Regions from separate parts of the Homo sapiens genome. Here region 2 is linked to region 1. Evidence: promoter capture Hi-C in 16 types of primary human blood cells and fetal thymus (Javierre and others, 2016). All regions are on one chromosome and are shown on one strand. Each heading gives the region's core, a stretch centred on a gene start or on the middle of the fragment in contact. The rest is flanking DNA. Distances are from core to core; before and after follow the strand shown. Region 1 holds the start of GORASP1 (golgi reassembly stacking protein 1). Region 2 has its middle 5.5 kb from the start of RPSA.

Region 1 (7,236 bases), core at 2,868-5,367:
CAAGAAATGTTAGTGCCTCAGATATACCGTATCTGTGTATTGTGTACTGTATATATATCTGTGTTTTATACATAAAGAGTAAGATTTTTTTCACCCTCTCCCCCAGGGACCATGTCTACACCCTTGAAAATTGGTATCAGCCCTGCTGAGAAGGCATGGCCTAGACTGAGGCTTCAAATTCCATATTAGTGCAGATATACAGTATATGGGCTGCACTGCATGAGCCACCATTCAGTTCCAGCAGAGCATTACAGGGAGGGAATGGCCCAGTGTGGCCAGCTCATCTGGGTCTTCAAAAGAACCAGTAAGTCTGGACCAGCCTGGGCAACATGGCAAGACCCAGTCTCTACAAAAAATGTAAAAACTAGCTGGGCATGCTGGCACACACCTATGGTCCCAGCTACTTGGGGGGCTGAGGTGGAAGGATTGCTTGTGCCTAGGAGGTTGAGGCTGCAGTGAGGTCTCAAAAAAAAATTTCTTAAGAATATGGTGCAAGCCATAGAAAATCTATCTAAAGATCAGACTCTGTGTACAAATGCCAATGTGTAACCTCTGCTAAGCCCAGAGACAACACGCGTGGGGCAACTGTGAGACCCGGTGTTTTGCCAGTGCCTGGGTGTGGCTCTCCCCCAGTTTCAGGGCCCTTTGTGGGAATGAGGGCCACCCTGCTATTATGTGTTTGGATGCTGCTTTCTTCGCCTGTTGTCCCCATGGTGTGGTAAGTACCTCTCTGAAGCCTCTAGAAATCTTCAGCATGCGGTCAATGTACTCTTTGGCCTTGTCATGGCGGCCTATGAGCCAGAGGAAAAGGCCAGCATAGTACAGTGCAGTCCCACTGACTGTCTTGCGTATTTCCTTCAGGCTGTACTCAAGCTCCTGAATTGCTTCTCGGTCTGTAAATCCAAGAGCGAAGGAAGAGGGAGAGTTAGGATGTGGAAGTCTGCCTGGTTCTGCATGGGCCACCGAGGGCCCAGGGAACTACCTCGGGGTCTCCCCCAGACACTGTGGATCTCCTTCAACATATGCAGCACACCGCATGCAGCCCAAGGCCTGGAAACCAGCAGTACCTGCCCTTGAGATGCTGCAGGGGCTGCCCTGGTGTGGACTCACGTGTGCTGTCTGAGATTACCTTCTCTTCTCTGTGCCCAGCAGTGTGCTGAGCAGGCAGGCCAAACCAAAATCCTTAGCCTCAGGCCCACAACTTATTGTGAGTAGGGAAATAGTAGTCTGTAGTCTCTCTTGGACCCTCTCCCTGACTCTAGAAATGTGGAGATTAGGGGTAGAATTATATATATTGGCTTGGTTTTTCTGACAAGATCTTGGCAAAGAAGAAGGGTGTTTCCCCAACTCTTGGGATCTGGAGCATGGGCCCCTCCCACTGTCATGGGCTCTGCCTGCTTCCACTCAGTTGGGCCCAGGCATGGAGTCTTCTCCCAGGCCTCCAGGGGGAGAGGAGCAGCAGCCACTTCTCACTGGTTAACAGCATCTGCACAGCCACCAGGGCACATACCTCCTTTGGCAGCCCTTGAGGGGCTGTGTTATCTCTGGGGCAGGGCTTTCCTTCCCCTGGTGGGTCAGGCCTGGTTGAGCATGGTGGCACTCACCAATGATTTCACATCTTTTGTGAGCATAAATGAGGGCCATGGTGGAGCACAGGGACACGTCTGGGTGATGCCTGATGCTTTCCAGGTCACTGATGGCATCCTGGATGTGCTCTGCAAAGACAGTCCACATAGTTATACTCTCAAGCTCCAGGACTAGAGGACATGAGACTCTGTAGCTGACCCAACAGCTCAGCACTACTACCTGCTGGACTAACTGGTCTGAAAGGTCCCCAGTGACCCAAGTTCCCTGAAGATTGGGGCTCTTTGAAAGAGTTGCTGGTAACATGGTCCAGGCTGTTAGGGGCTGGAAATCTTGGACTTGAAAGGTTCACCCTGTGAGTACTTGTGGGGATATGTGTGAGGCTGCAATTATTAGCTGCGTCAGTTCTGAAGAAGGACCTCAGGCAGGGCATTCTCAGCTACTGCTCAAGAGCCACTGATTACATTTATCCCTCCATGTCCTCAGACATTTGGCCATGGGCTATTCTGCCAGTCCTCAGCCTAGGACCACCTTCTGAATGTCAGCCCATCTGCACCTGCATGGGTCTCACTCCTCTCCCTGTACCTGTACCATACCCACCTGTCCTCACACCTACCTCTTCCCCCTCCTTTGCCTGCATTACCAGTTCTCAGCTTCCAGGCCTGGAATTACTTCAAGAATCATGCAGCTATCTCTCCAACCACTCATTTTACAGAGAGGGAACCCGAGGTGCAGAGCAGGGATAGTCAGCGCTCTGAGGTCTCAAAAGTCAACTAGATATGGATTACGTAGGCCTCTGTGGATTCCCGTGGGAATCCAGCCGCTGAGTGTGAAACTGTTTTTATGGGACCATAACTAGGATACAAGAAGGCATCCAGGTGGAGCCAGAGTGTTAGGGCCCAGCTAGTGCCTGGGGTCACAAGACCAACACTGCCAAGTCCTTACCTTCTTTGAGGACTCCATAGGCTTTAAAGAACTTCAACACAGGGTCATTGCTGAATTTTTCCAGGCCCACAGCTGCAGCCTGCTGCACATGGTGGAAGTACTTTTCCTGGCTATAGTAAATGATCCCAGCCTGTATGAAGGAAGACATAACTGCAATAGCCCAGTCCCTTCTCTGTCTCTGTTCTGTCCCAGATGGGATGAGACCTGCTCCCTTCCCTATCCCCTGCTCCTCCTCAGTTCTGCAAAGGGAAGAGAAAGAGGAAACATTCAGGCCTCATCCTGTCCTCTAACAGCCCTGGGAGCAGCTCCATGCAGTTTTCCCAGGAAAGAGTTTGGAGGTGTTTGTTTGGGGGATTACCAACAGATTCTGGTTCAACTATGATGGGGAATTCAACCAAGGCTTTGTCTTAGGAAGGGAATAAGGGGGGAAAAATGAGGACAAATAATAAGAAAAATTATACGAATTGTAGTTACAAGTTATTGTGGGCTTCATATCCACTATCCTGTGCATGGTCCTCTCAGTATCTTTCACAGCTAAGGAAGCTTAAGCCCATGGAAACTACAGCTTGACAAAGGGGCTGAGATTTTAAAGTTAAGTTTCACTTCCTCTAAGGTTTGTGGGTGCTAGGTTGGGAGCAGATGTGGTTGGACTGTAAACATCCTCATGGGCCATATGAAAGAGCCCAGACACCATCCTAAGGGTAACAGAAAGCAGAATGGTTTTAAGGCGAGGGATGTTTTCAGATGTACATTTTTGCAACAACCACTCTGGCTGCTTTTGCATGTGGGGGGTGTGTGCCGTGGTGGCAGCAGGGACTACTGATGCTGAAAAGAGCCACAGCAGAGAAACCAGATGGGAGGGAGGCTGTTGCAGGCTCTCAGGGGGGAGAGATGGTGCTGGTTCTGGGCTAGAAGATAAAAAGATAAAAAGAAAACCCAGGAGACATCAAGGAGCTGGCATTTCTTGTAGACAGGATTAGAAGATGAGTATAGGGAAGAGGTATGAGTTAAGGCTAGGAGATTAAATGGTGAAGCCATCAACTGGGGTGGGAGGCGCAGGCGAGAGTGAGCTGGGTGGAAGAAGGGATGATGACAAGAAGGGATAATGATAGTGATTGGATGAGCTGGTTTGGGGTAGCTCAAGAAACGGGGATGCTAATTTGGGGCTCAGGGTGCGCAGAAGCCACCGGAGAAGACGCCCTTGCCAGGGGGAGTGGGGCAAGAAAAGGCAGGACCGCCTGATATAACTGAGGACAGCGAAGGGTGGCAGGAGAGTAGCAGGGCAGACGGTCTCTGGGTCAGGGGCGGGGAGTCACGAGGGAGCCCTCGGACAGCGCCCGGGCCACGCACCATAAGGGAGGAGTCATTGCTGCTCATCTCGGGCCGCTCGCGGCTCCGAGTCCGGGTCTGGTGGGGCGGTGCAGAGCGGGATTCCCGAGGCAGGGTCGTGGGCACTCTATCGCGGCGGGCGGTTGAAGGCGTTACAGTCCTTGGAAACCGAGCTGCTAGCCGGTTGCTAGGAGCGTCCAGTGTCTGGAGTGGGAGGAACAAAACGCCTCACGTCACAAGGCGCAGGAATCGAGCGCCGAGAGAGCGAGTCGGTGCTACTGGCGTCGGGTCGGTCCGGGTAGGCGCAGCGGGACTGGACCTGGGTGCCGAGCGGAGCCGCTGCCATGGGCCTGGGCGTCAGCGCTGAGCAGCCCGCAGGCGGCGCCGAGGGCTTCCACCTCCACGGGGTGAGTTGCCGCCGCGGCGCCGGTGACCTTGGCGAGGCGCCCGCAACCCCGCGCCCGGGCGTCCGGTCGCCGGCTGGCTGGCGACTGCGGCGGGGTCCCGGCCCGAGTGTTTCCGCCTGGGTGGCGGGAGGTGCCCCCTGCCCGGTGGGAGCCTCCTGGGAGAGGCGGCCTCGCGGGACTCCCGGACCCTGGCTAGTCCGCGGCCGCGGTCGGGCCCAGCGCCCGCCCCAAGTGCCAGCAGTGCCGGAAGCGGAGCGTTTTCCTGGTCCGGCCGCCGGGAATGGCGCTCCTCCCGGGTGAAGAATGCACCACTACCAGTCGGGACGCACTCGTGCACTTAGCACACATTTACGCTCGCCTGCCGCGGGCCGCTCTCCGTGCTGGGCCTGGGAAGAGAGTCAGCCACGCCGAGGACAGTCCCGGGGGCCGGGGTTAACCGAGTGGACGCAGCTGCGGGGGAGCCCGTCGGCGCGCGTCCTGCCAGTCGTAGGGTCGTAAGGGCTTCCGAGGGTAGAGGACCGGTGCAAACCAGCCACGGGATAGTGGGGAGCGGGAGGGCCGGGAGAGTGCTGCAGAATCCTCGAGGAGAGCGTTTGCAGCTGGGGAGGGTCCCAGCCTTTAGATGCCGCTACATGGAGGTCTGGGCGAGCAGGCTTCCGGAGAGTGGAGACGGAGTGGGGTTCCTAGAACGGAGTGTGCTGTGAGGGTGAGGAGAGGGTCCCGCAGCCGGATGGAGATTTGTGCCTGCGGTGAGGGAAGGGCTATAATGTAGGTGAGAGGGGCTGGGGGTCTCTGACCCCGGAGCGCTGCGGGGAAGAGGCGTCCCTGCACCCCCCCTTTCCCTAGTGAAAGGCAGCTGGATGCAGAGATGAGTGGAGACAGGCAAGCTTGTCGGTTTGTGTGTTTTGAAGGTAGGGTCTGTTGCCAGCTAACCACATGAGAGGGCTAAAAGTTTCTTAACGTGAAAACCAGGCTGGCTTGGAGAACCCAGAGTTGACAGGATTTGTGCTTGGGAATGGGCTTTCTTATGGTGAGACACCAAACAGCAAGCGTGGACAGTGGAATGCATCCAGCCAGGAGCGTCTTCCAACAGGTTTGATTAAAGGCAAAGGAACTCAGGATATTGGCAAGAGGAGGGGTGGGGCGATGATGGGAGCTTCGAAGACGGGAGGGGCCTGCCTGATGGAGAGGGACAAATTGGAGAGGGACCAGGGATCAGAGGTTGTCAGTCACAAAAACAAAGTTTTGAGCTCCTACTCTGGCAGGCAGAATTCTAAGGCTCTAGAGATAAAGCAGTGAACAGAACAAACATGGTCCCTGTTCTGGAGCTGACATTTGGATGATGGTAGGGAAAGAAGGGAAATGAAAAAATACATGGTAGGTGGTAATTACCAGTGATAAAAATAAAGCAGGTTAAGGGGATACAGAATGGTGAGTGGGTGCTATTTTTGATAGAGTGGTCAGGAAGGGCCTCTTCTCAAGTCACATTCGAACAGATGCTTCTGAAGGAAGTAAAGAGTGGACAATACAGATATTTAGGGGAATAGTAGTATTCCAGGCAGAAGGACCAGCTTGTGCAGAGGCCCCGAGGTAGGTTGTGCTTGTGTGTTTGAGGAAATGCCAGGTGAGGCTGGTGTGCTTGGATGGTGTGGCCAGTGTGAGGAGGAGACCAGAGCAGACCGTGTAGGACCTTGCCTGTTGTCCTGAAGATTTAAGATTTTATTCTGAGATGTAAAACCATCAGGAGGTTTTAAATGGAGGAGTGACATGACCTACTTACCTTTAACAACACTGAAGAACAGCTGTGCTGCATTCTAGAAATATTGGCACCTCGCTGCGTGCCCAATACTTTGGAGAAGTCGCTGCCCTCAGCGAGCTTAGAGTAGTGGCAGATTCACCAGGAAACAGCTGTTAGGAGAGGGCAGTGGTTAGGGGGAGGGCTCTGGGTTGGATTTCCTGGGGTCAAATTACTGAATTATTGAGTACTTGGTCTCATTTGTCATTTGAGGTTATTAAAAAGGTTAAATGACACATAAAGCAGGTGAGGTGGTGCCATGCCCTGGCACTCAGCCAACCAGCCCTTAGTAAGTGTAAGTTGTGATCACTGTGAGTTCCATTAGGTTCCCTGATTGGGAAAAATAGGGTGGGAGCATGAGGAAAAGCAGCACTATAGGGCCTTGGGGCAGGCTGTGATGGGAGCCCCTGAGGGAGCTGGATGGCAGGCAGTGGTTTCTGCAGGGGGAGCCGTACAGTGGGCAGCAGCATAGATTATTTCAGCTGCGGAGCCATAGTGAGTAGTGATGAGGCCCCAGGTGAGAGAAGTGGAGTGTAGCCAAGCAGAGGACAAAGCCACAGGAGAGGGTGGTGGAGGTATTGGGTGGGTCAAGGAGGCCAGGCCTGGGGCCTGACCCTCTGGACCTCATTCATGATGGAGAGCAGCTGACATGCAATACTGGGGAGTGGGGAGGGAAGTAGGCAGGCACCTGACGTGGAGTGATTTGGAGGTGGCCCTGATTAGGGAGGGGCATTGTCCCCAAGCTATTCCTGAATAACTGTCCTGTCCTGTGGTTTTCGAAAGATCCCCTCACCTGAAGGGTTAGAGGGCAGGGCCCAGAGCTCCCCTGCAGCGGGGCCTGGGAGCAGCTTGCCTACTGGGCCAGGCCAACTAGGCCCAGATCTGATTTCTGGGCCGCACTCACTCCCTTTGGAAGCCATGGCAGCTTCTGGAGGTGATAAGGAGGGGCTCAGTTGGTGATGCTGCCAGAAGGGAATCCTAATTCCAGGGGCAAACTGGCCTTGATCTCAGCGGTTTGTTCTCAGCCTAGTCTTCATGAGCTCTCCTTCAGGTTGGGGAATCCAAACCTGGAGGGGCTGGTATGTAGCAGGAGCCACAGGGCCTTTCCCATGAGGAGGCAGCAAGAGCCTAGGTCCTGTGCCCTCTGGGCTGGGTCTGGCTGGTGTCTACGCCAAC
Region 2 (7,222 bases), core at 4,094-6,593, 290 kb before region 1:
CAAGCATCAGTAGCTTTTAAAGCTCTTGTAGGGGCTTCCCCTCCACCCTCTGAGTGTTCACTGCTAAAATGAACTGACAATAGACAAATTAACAGGAGAAGAAACATACACTTTTTTTTTTTGAGACGGAGTTTTGCTCTTGTTGCCCAGGCTGGAGTGCAGTGGCTCAATCTCGGCTCAACGAAACCTCCACCTCTCGGGTTCAAGCAATTCTCCTGCCTCAGCCTCTCGAGTAGCTGGGATTATAGGCATGCGCCACCACACCCGGCTAATTTTGTATTTTTAGTAGAAATGGGGTTGCTCCATGTTGGTCAGGCTGGACTTGAACTCCTGACCTCAGGTTATCTGCCCACCTCGGCCTCCCAAAGTGCTGGGATTACAGGCGTGAGCCACCACACCAGGCCAAACATACACATTTATTAATGTGCTTATGCACAGGAGCCACACGAAATATAAGACTCAAAGAAGGGCCAGATGGCTGAAGCTTAAATAGCATCTACTTCACAGGGAAGGGAGATGGGATGGTAAACAATTTAGAGGGCTAGTAAGTGATTTTTGGAAGGATAGGAATGAGTTCAAAGAACAGAAAATTTGCCTGAGACAAAGTTCCTGTGAGCTCTGGGGGAAACAGCAGCAAAGGGTAAGGGGAGGAACTTCACTGTGACCAAAGGTTGCCTTATTAGGCAAATAATGTCTCCTGGAAAATCTCTCAAAAGCTGCCCTCAGAAAAATAGATGAAGAGTCTGTCTGGGCATGGTGATGACTTTTAGTCTTTTCTCTTCCCAGTGGTTAATATTTCCTGGTTACCTGATGAGATTCTTAGGGAGGAAGTTTTAAGACTATTGTATTTTATTCTGGAGGAACCTACCTTATTCAGATAAGGGAACTTCAGACAAAGCCCCTCCGGATGCTTTGGGAAAAGGGGATTGAGAGATGGGGTTAGGGGAAGGTCAGAAAGAAACCTTGGTTCTGACGCTATTTCAGAAGCCTTTCAATTTTCTTTAATTCAAAGCATGCAGCATGCCAAAGTGCCTTATTCAGTCAGGGGTATCATTTTCTGAGCCCCAACATTTTCCAGATGATTCCAATGTGCAGCCATATTGAGTTTAAAAACCACGATCCTAGACTCTAGAGTATTTCTTCTTTATTTTATGTAATTTTTTTTTTTTTGAGACAGTCTCATTCTGTCACCCAGGCTGGAGTGCAGTAGTGTGATCTCAGCTCACTGCAACCTCTGCTCCCAGGCTCAAGCAATTCTCCAGCTTCAGCCTCCCGAGTAGCTGGGACTACAGGCCCGCACCACCACATCTGGCCAGTTTTTGTATTTTTGGTAGAGACAGGGTTTTGCTTTGTCGGCCAGGCTGGTCTTGAACTCCTTACCTCAAGTGATCAGCCCGCCTCGGCCTCCCGAAGTGCTAGGATTACAGGCATGAGCCACTGCACCCGGCCTAGGGTATTTCCTGACTACCTAAGCTAATGGCTCCCAGGAGCAGAGAAGAACTTAGAAGCTAGTTCTACCTAGAGGCTGTTGCATTGAGGCACCTTTTTTTGGAGGGAGTGGTGACAAAAGCTGAAATTTAAGACACAGTGGATTGTTAAATTTTTTTTTCTTCTTCTTCTTTTTTTTGTTTTTTTTTTTGAGACAGAGTTGCTGTCTCCCAGGCTGGAGTGCAGTGGTGCAATTGCAACTCACTGCAACCTCTGCCTCCCAGATTCAAGCAATTCTTGTGCCTCAGCTACCCGAATAGCTGGGACTACAGGTGCACACCACTACATCTGGCTGATTTTTTGTAATTTTAGTAGAGACAGGGCTTTGCCATGTTGGCCAGGATGGTCTTGAACTCCTGACCTCAAGTGATCTCACTGGCCTTGGCCTCCCAAAGTGCTGGGATTATAGGTGTGACCCACTGTGCCCTGCTGCTTGTTAAATGTATTTATTTATTTTTTGAGACAGAGTCTCCCTCTGGTGTGCAATGGCATGATCTCAGCTCACTGCAACCTCTGCCTCCCAGGTTCAAACGATTCTCCTGCCTTGGCCTCCCAAGTAACTGGGATTACAGGCGCGTGCCACCATGCCCAGCTAATTTTTGTATTTTTAGTAGAGATAGGTTTTCACCATGTTGGTCAGGCTAGTCTCGAACTCCTGACCTTGTGATCTGCCCGCCTCAGCCTCCCGAAGGGCTGGGATTATAGGCATAAGCCACCGTGCCCAGCCTGGTTGTTACATTTAATATCAACAATAAGTTAGAAGGCCAGGCGTGATGACACACACCTGTAATCCCAGCACTTTGGGAGGCTGAGGTGGGCAGATCCCTTGAGCCCAGGAGTTCGAGACTAGCCTGGGCAACATGGCGAAACCCTGTCTCTACTAAAAATACAAAAATATTAGCTGGGTGTGGTAATGCATGCCTGTAGTCCCAGCTACTTGGGAGGCTGAGGTGGGAGGATTGCTTGAGCCTGGGAGGTCGAGGCTGCAGTGAGCTGAGAGCAGTGAGCTGAGATTGCCAGTGTACTCCAGCCTGTGGAATAGAGTGAGACCCTGTCTCAAAAAAACAAAAAACCCAACAAGTTATAAATGCACTGCTCAGCCAGAAGTATATGGAAGGGGCATAAGGCATAACCTTGGTGAGCAGGTTTCAGTTTTGCAACCTCCCAGAGTCAGTGCTGGGTTCCCTGTCTTGATTGGGCCCTCAGAACTGACTCACTCTAACCTTGGTTTGCCTCAAAATTATTTATCCTTTCTAACTGCTGGTTAAAGAAATTTCAGCCTCTCCTCATTTCTCTTGGGAGGAAGTAACTGAATGAAGTGAATAGAACGTTTCATTTGCACTCACTCATTTGCTAAGTGAGAGACCCTCGTATGCCTTTTCAGACTTTCTACCACTTAGAATCTATAGCTCTGGTCTTTCCTTTGCCTAAGAAATTGGATAGACCTAAATGTAATCAAGCCATCCAAGGTAACATCCAGTTTATAGAACATGTGTGAAACAGAAATGAGCTAAAACCATCAGAAAACAAATTCAGAAAATGGGACATTTTACAGGATACTGGGGCTGAGGATGTGTTACCTCAAAGACTAGCCCTTTGATATGCCAAGAGAGGCCTTAGACACTGCTTCAGAATCAAGTTTCCTCTAACTTTGTCTTGTTCCCCCGTCCCCTCAGTCCCTACAAAGACAATGTAGAACAAAAAAATTGGGGAGAATGGTGGTGTCCTGGAATAAAGAGGTTTTTTTTTGAGACAGGGCTTTGCTCTGTCACCTGGGCTGGAGTGCAGTGGCCTGATCACGGCTCACTGCAGCCTTGACTTTCAGGGCTTAAGTGATTCTCCTGCCTCAGCCTTCTGAGTAGCTGGGACTACAGATGTGCCTCACCACACCTGGCAAATTTTTAAATTTTTCTGTAGAGACAGAGTTTGACTATGTTGCCTAGGCTGGTCTCAAACTACTGGGCTCAAGCGATCTATCAGCCTTGGCTTTCCAAAGGGCTGGGCCTACAGGCATGAGCCACTGTGCCCAGCCTAGAGATTTTCAAAACCAACTGCCGGCAAAGTGTGGTGGCTCATACCTGTAATCCCAATCCTTTGGGAGGCTGAGGCTGGAGGATCACTTGAGGCTAGGAGTTTGAGACCAGCCTGGGCAACATTGCGAGATCTTGTCTCTGCAAAAAAATTTTTTAAAAACTGGCTGGGTGTGGTGGCGTGCACCTGTAGTCCCAGCTACTTGGGAGGCTGAGGTGGGAGGATGGCTTGAGCCTAGAAGTTCAAGGTTGCAGTGAACCATGATCATACCACTGCACTGCATCCTGGGTGACGAGCAAGACCTTGTTTCTAAAACATCAATAAAAGACCAAATGCCTTGTATGGACCTTGTTTGAATTCTAATTGAAATAAACCAACTGTAAAAAATCATTGTTGGGACAGTCTGGGAAATGTGAATATGGATGATATGCAAAAAATGTGTTAAATTTTTCCAGGTGGGGTAATGACATACTTATGTTAAAAAAAAGTCCATAATTTTTAAGAGATGCATATTGAAGTAAGCAAGGGTGAAATTATATGATGTCTGGGATCTGTCTCTAAAAGCTTCATAAAAGAAAAAGGAGGCCAGGCGTGGTGGCTCACACCTGTAATCCCAGCACTTTGAGAGGCCGAGGCAGGTGGATCACGAGGTCAGGAGATCGAGACCATCCTGGCTAACACAGTGAAACCCCATCTCTACTAAAAATAAAAAAAAATTACCCAGTCGTGGTGGCTGGCGCCTGTAGTCCCAGCTACTCGGGAAGCTGAGGCAGAAGAATGGCGTGAACCCAGGAGGCAGAGCTTGCAGTGAGCCGAGACTGCGCTACTGCACTCCAGCCTGGGTGACAGAGCGAGACTCCGTCTCAAAAAAAAAAAAAAGAAAAAAAAAAGAAAAAGGAGTGGCAGGAGCAGGGGACACAGTTAGGGGAGAGAAGCAAGTGTGGCAAAATCTTGGCAATTGCTCCATCTGAGCGATATGAATGAAGGGCCAGTAGACCATTGGCTTTCCTATTGTGATGGCTTGAAAGATTTCATAATCATGTATTCTTAGAAAGTGAGTGTAATACAGCTTGAAACCTTTGCTTCTGTGTCTTCTTTTGGCTTTAGCCCTACACTGCCTTATCTTTAGTCACCATCTGACTATTTTTCTCCCACAGAGCCCCACCTCTAATGTGCTTTAATAAGTCTAAGGCAGCCAAGAAGGAACCATTTAAAAAAAAAAAAAGGCCAATGTGGTGGCTCACACCTGTAATCCCAGCACTTTGGGAGGCCAAGGCGGATGGATCATGAGGTCAGGAGTTCGAGACCAGCCTGGCCAAGATGGTGAAACCTCGTTTCTACTAAAAAATACAAAAATTAGCCGGGCGCGGTGGCAGGTACCTGTAATCCCAGCTATTTGGGAGGCTGAGGCAGGAGAATCGCTTGAACCCGGGAGGCGGAGGTTGCAGCGAGCCAAGATCATACCACTGCACTCTAGCCTGGGCAACAGAGCAAGACTCTGTCTCAAAAAAAAAAAAAAGTGGGCAATGCTTCCAAAGCCAGCTAACGCTCACTAGCCAATTGCTTTCCAAGCTTTAATACTGAGACTGTGAGAGAGGAAAAAACAGGCTACTTGCCGCAGGACTCGAGATTCACAAAGACAAATTTTCTACCTCATGTTTAGAGAAAACTAGATGATTTCTCCTGATTTTATCATATTTATTTGCTCCCCTAAAAAACAAATGAAGAAAATGTGAGGGGGAATCTGGTGGCAGAAATTCATCTGCCAATGTGAGGCCAGGAAATTCGCATTGGGAAGAAGCCCAACTCTCTCGGCCTTATCTCTGCCCCTCCTCCCTAAGAGTCCTCACTGGCATTAGGTTCCCTGCACTCAGGATGAGGGTCAAAGGAGGCTGAGGAGGCAAGGGACATGGAACACCTACTCCAGAGTCTAAGTTCTTAGGAAGCAGCCACTCCATCCAACTGTCCCTCCCTTCTCTCCTTTCCCATCCTGACCTCTCCCCTGCTTCCTACAGCACGAGGCCTCACAACACACAGGTCACAGCATTGGAGGCTTGGGTGCCACTGTAAGCTTAGGACCCTGCTTCATCCTCTCCCACACCCCTACCCAAATTACTATTTTAAATATGGTGTTTTAACCTAAAGCCTAAAGTATAAACTGATTTTAACTTATACATCAGCTTAATCTGTGTTGTGGGTTGAATTGTGTCCCCCCAAAAGATATATTGGCGTTCTAACCCCTAATACCTGCGAATGTGACCCTATTTGGAAATAGGGTCTAACATAGAGAGAAACAGATACACAAGGGAAAAGGCATGTGAAGACAGGCAGAGATTAGAGTGATGTTTTTACAAGCCAAGGAATGCTAGCCACCACTAGAAGGTGCAACAGACAAAGCATGACTCTCCTAGAGCCTTCAGAGGTGCAATGCTGCTGACACATTGATTTCAGACTTCTGGCCTCCAGATTGAGTTATAAACCATTCTGACTGTGGTAACTTGTTGTGGCTGTCCTATGAAGCTAATACCACATTTCAGAAACATTTATTAATTAACCCTCACCACCACCTGAAGAGGCAGGAAACATTACTAACCCTATTTCCGGCTGGGGGCGCTGGCTCACACCCGTAATCCCAGCACTCTGGGAGGCTGAGGCAGGTGGATCACTTGAGATCAAGAGTTCAAGACAAGCCTGGCCAGCATGGTGAAACCCTGTCTCTACTAAAAATACAAAAAATTAGCCCAGCGTGTAGTCCCAGCTACTTGGAAGGCTGAGGTGGGAGAATTGCTTGAACCCAGGAGTGGAGGTTGCAGTCAGCTGAGATTGCACGATTGCACTCCAGCCTGGGCAACAGGGCGACACTTTGTTCTCCGCCCCCTAAAAAACCCCCAAAACAAACTAACCCCATTTCCTAGGCATAGTTTCAGTGCCATGCCTAGGTAGTGGAGAGCAAGCAGCTTTCAACCTGGGCTGCCTGGATTAGAGCCCATGTTCTTAACCACAAGACTAAATATCCCCCCAACTTGTGCTTCTTGTATAAAGTAATGGCTGTTTCCTGATTTTTTTTTTTCTGATATGGAGTCTCATTCTGTCATCCAGACTGGAGGGCAGTGGTGTGATCTGCAACCTGCATCTCCTGGGTTCAAGTGGTTCTCCTGCCTCAGCCTCCTGAGTAGCTAGAATTACAGGCGTGCCCCACGATGCCTGGCTAATTTTTGTATTTTTAGTAGAGATGGGGTTTTGCTGTTTTGGCCAGGCTGATCTTGAACTCCTGGCCTCAAGTAATCTGCCTGCCTCACCCTCCCAAAATGCTGGAATTACAGGCAGGAGCCACCTTGCCTGGCCATCTTTCCTGAATTTTCAAGAAAAGATTTGAGTGCACAATAAGAATAGCTATAAAAGAGATAATAACAAGTGTTGACAAGGATGTGGAGAAATTGGAACTCTCATATACTGTGGCTGAGAATGGAAAATGGTATAGTCACTTTGTTTTTTTGTTTTTTGAGACAGGGTCTCACTCTGTCACCCAGGCTGGAGTGCAGTGGCATGATTTCAGCTCACTTTAACCTCTGCCTCCTCGGTTCAAGTGATTCTCGTGCCTCAGCCTCCCAAGTAGCTGGGATTACAGGCACATGCCACCACGCCCAGCTAATGTTTGTATTTTTAGTAGAGACGGGGTTTCACCATGTTGGCCAGGCTGCTC

What was found. The method cuts DNA at HindIII sites, captures the fragments that hold promoters and counts their contacts. A CHiCAGO score of 5 or more calls a contact.
Region 2: a contact is called between a fragment that was not itself captured here and the fragment with the promoter of GORASP1 in region 1, in 8 of 17 cell types (activated CD4 T cells, total CD8 T cells, total B cells and 5 more). The highest score is 9.0, in activated CD4 T cells.

Annotation. Positions count from the first base shown.
Region 1 is chr3:39,104,508-39,111,743 of GRCh38, reverse strand. GORASP1 (golgi reassembly stacking protein 1) reads left to right here and starts at 4,117. Exons shown (of 9, transcript NM_031899.4): 1 at 4,117-4,265. The coding sequence starts at 4,203. It overlaps TTC21A (tetratricopeptide repeat domain 21A), which reads right to left and starts at 4,064. Exons shown (of 29, transcript NM_001366900.1): 1 at 3,880-4,064; 2 at 2,530-2,659; 3 at 1,605-1,715; 4 at 727-893. The coding sequence starts at 3,906. RefSeq lists a silencer at 4,168-4,487. The HindIII fragment of the contact is 2,080 bases long and covers 3,075-5,154 here.
Region 2 is chr3:39,397,630-39,404,851 of GRCh38, reverse strand. No RefSeq gene overlaps it. Among named protein-coding and RNA genes, the nearest start is that of RPSA, 5.5 kb to the left of the region's middle. RefSeq lists an enhancer at 1-789. The HindIII fragment of the contact is 499 bases long and covers 5,094-5,592 here.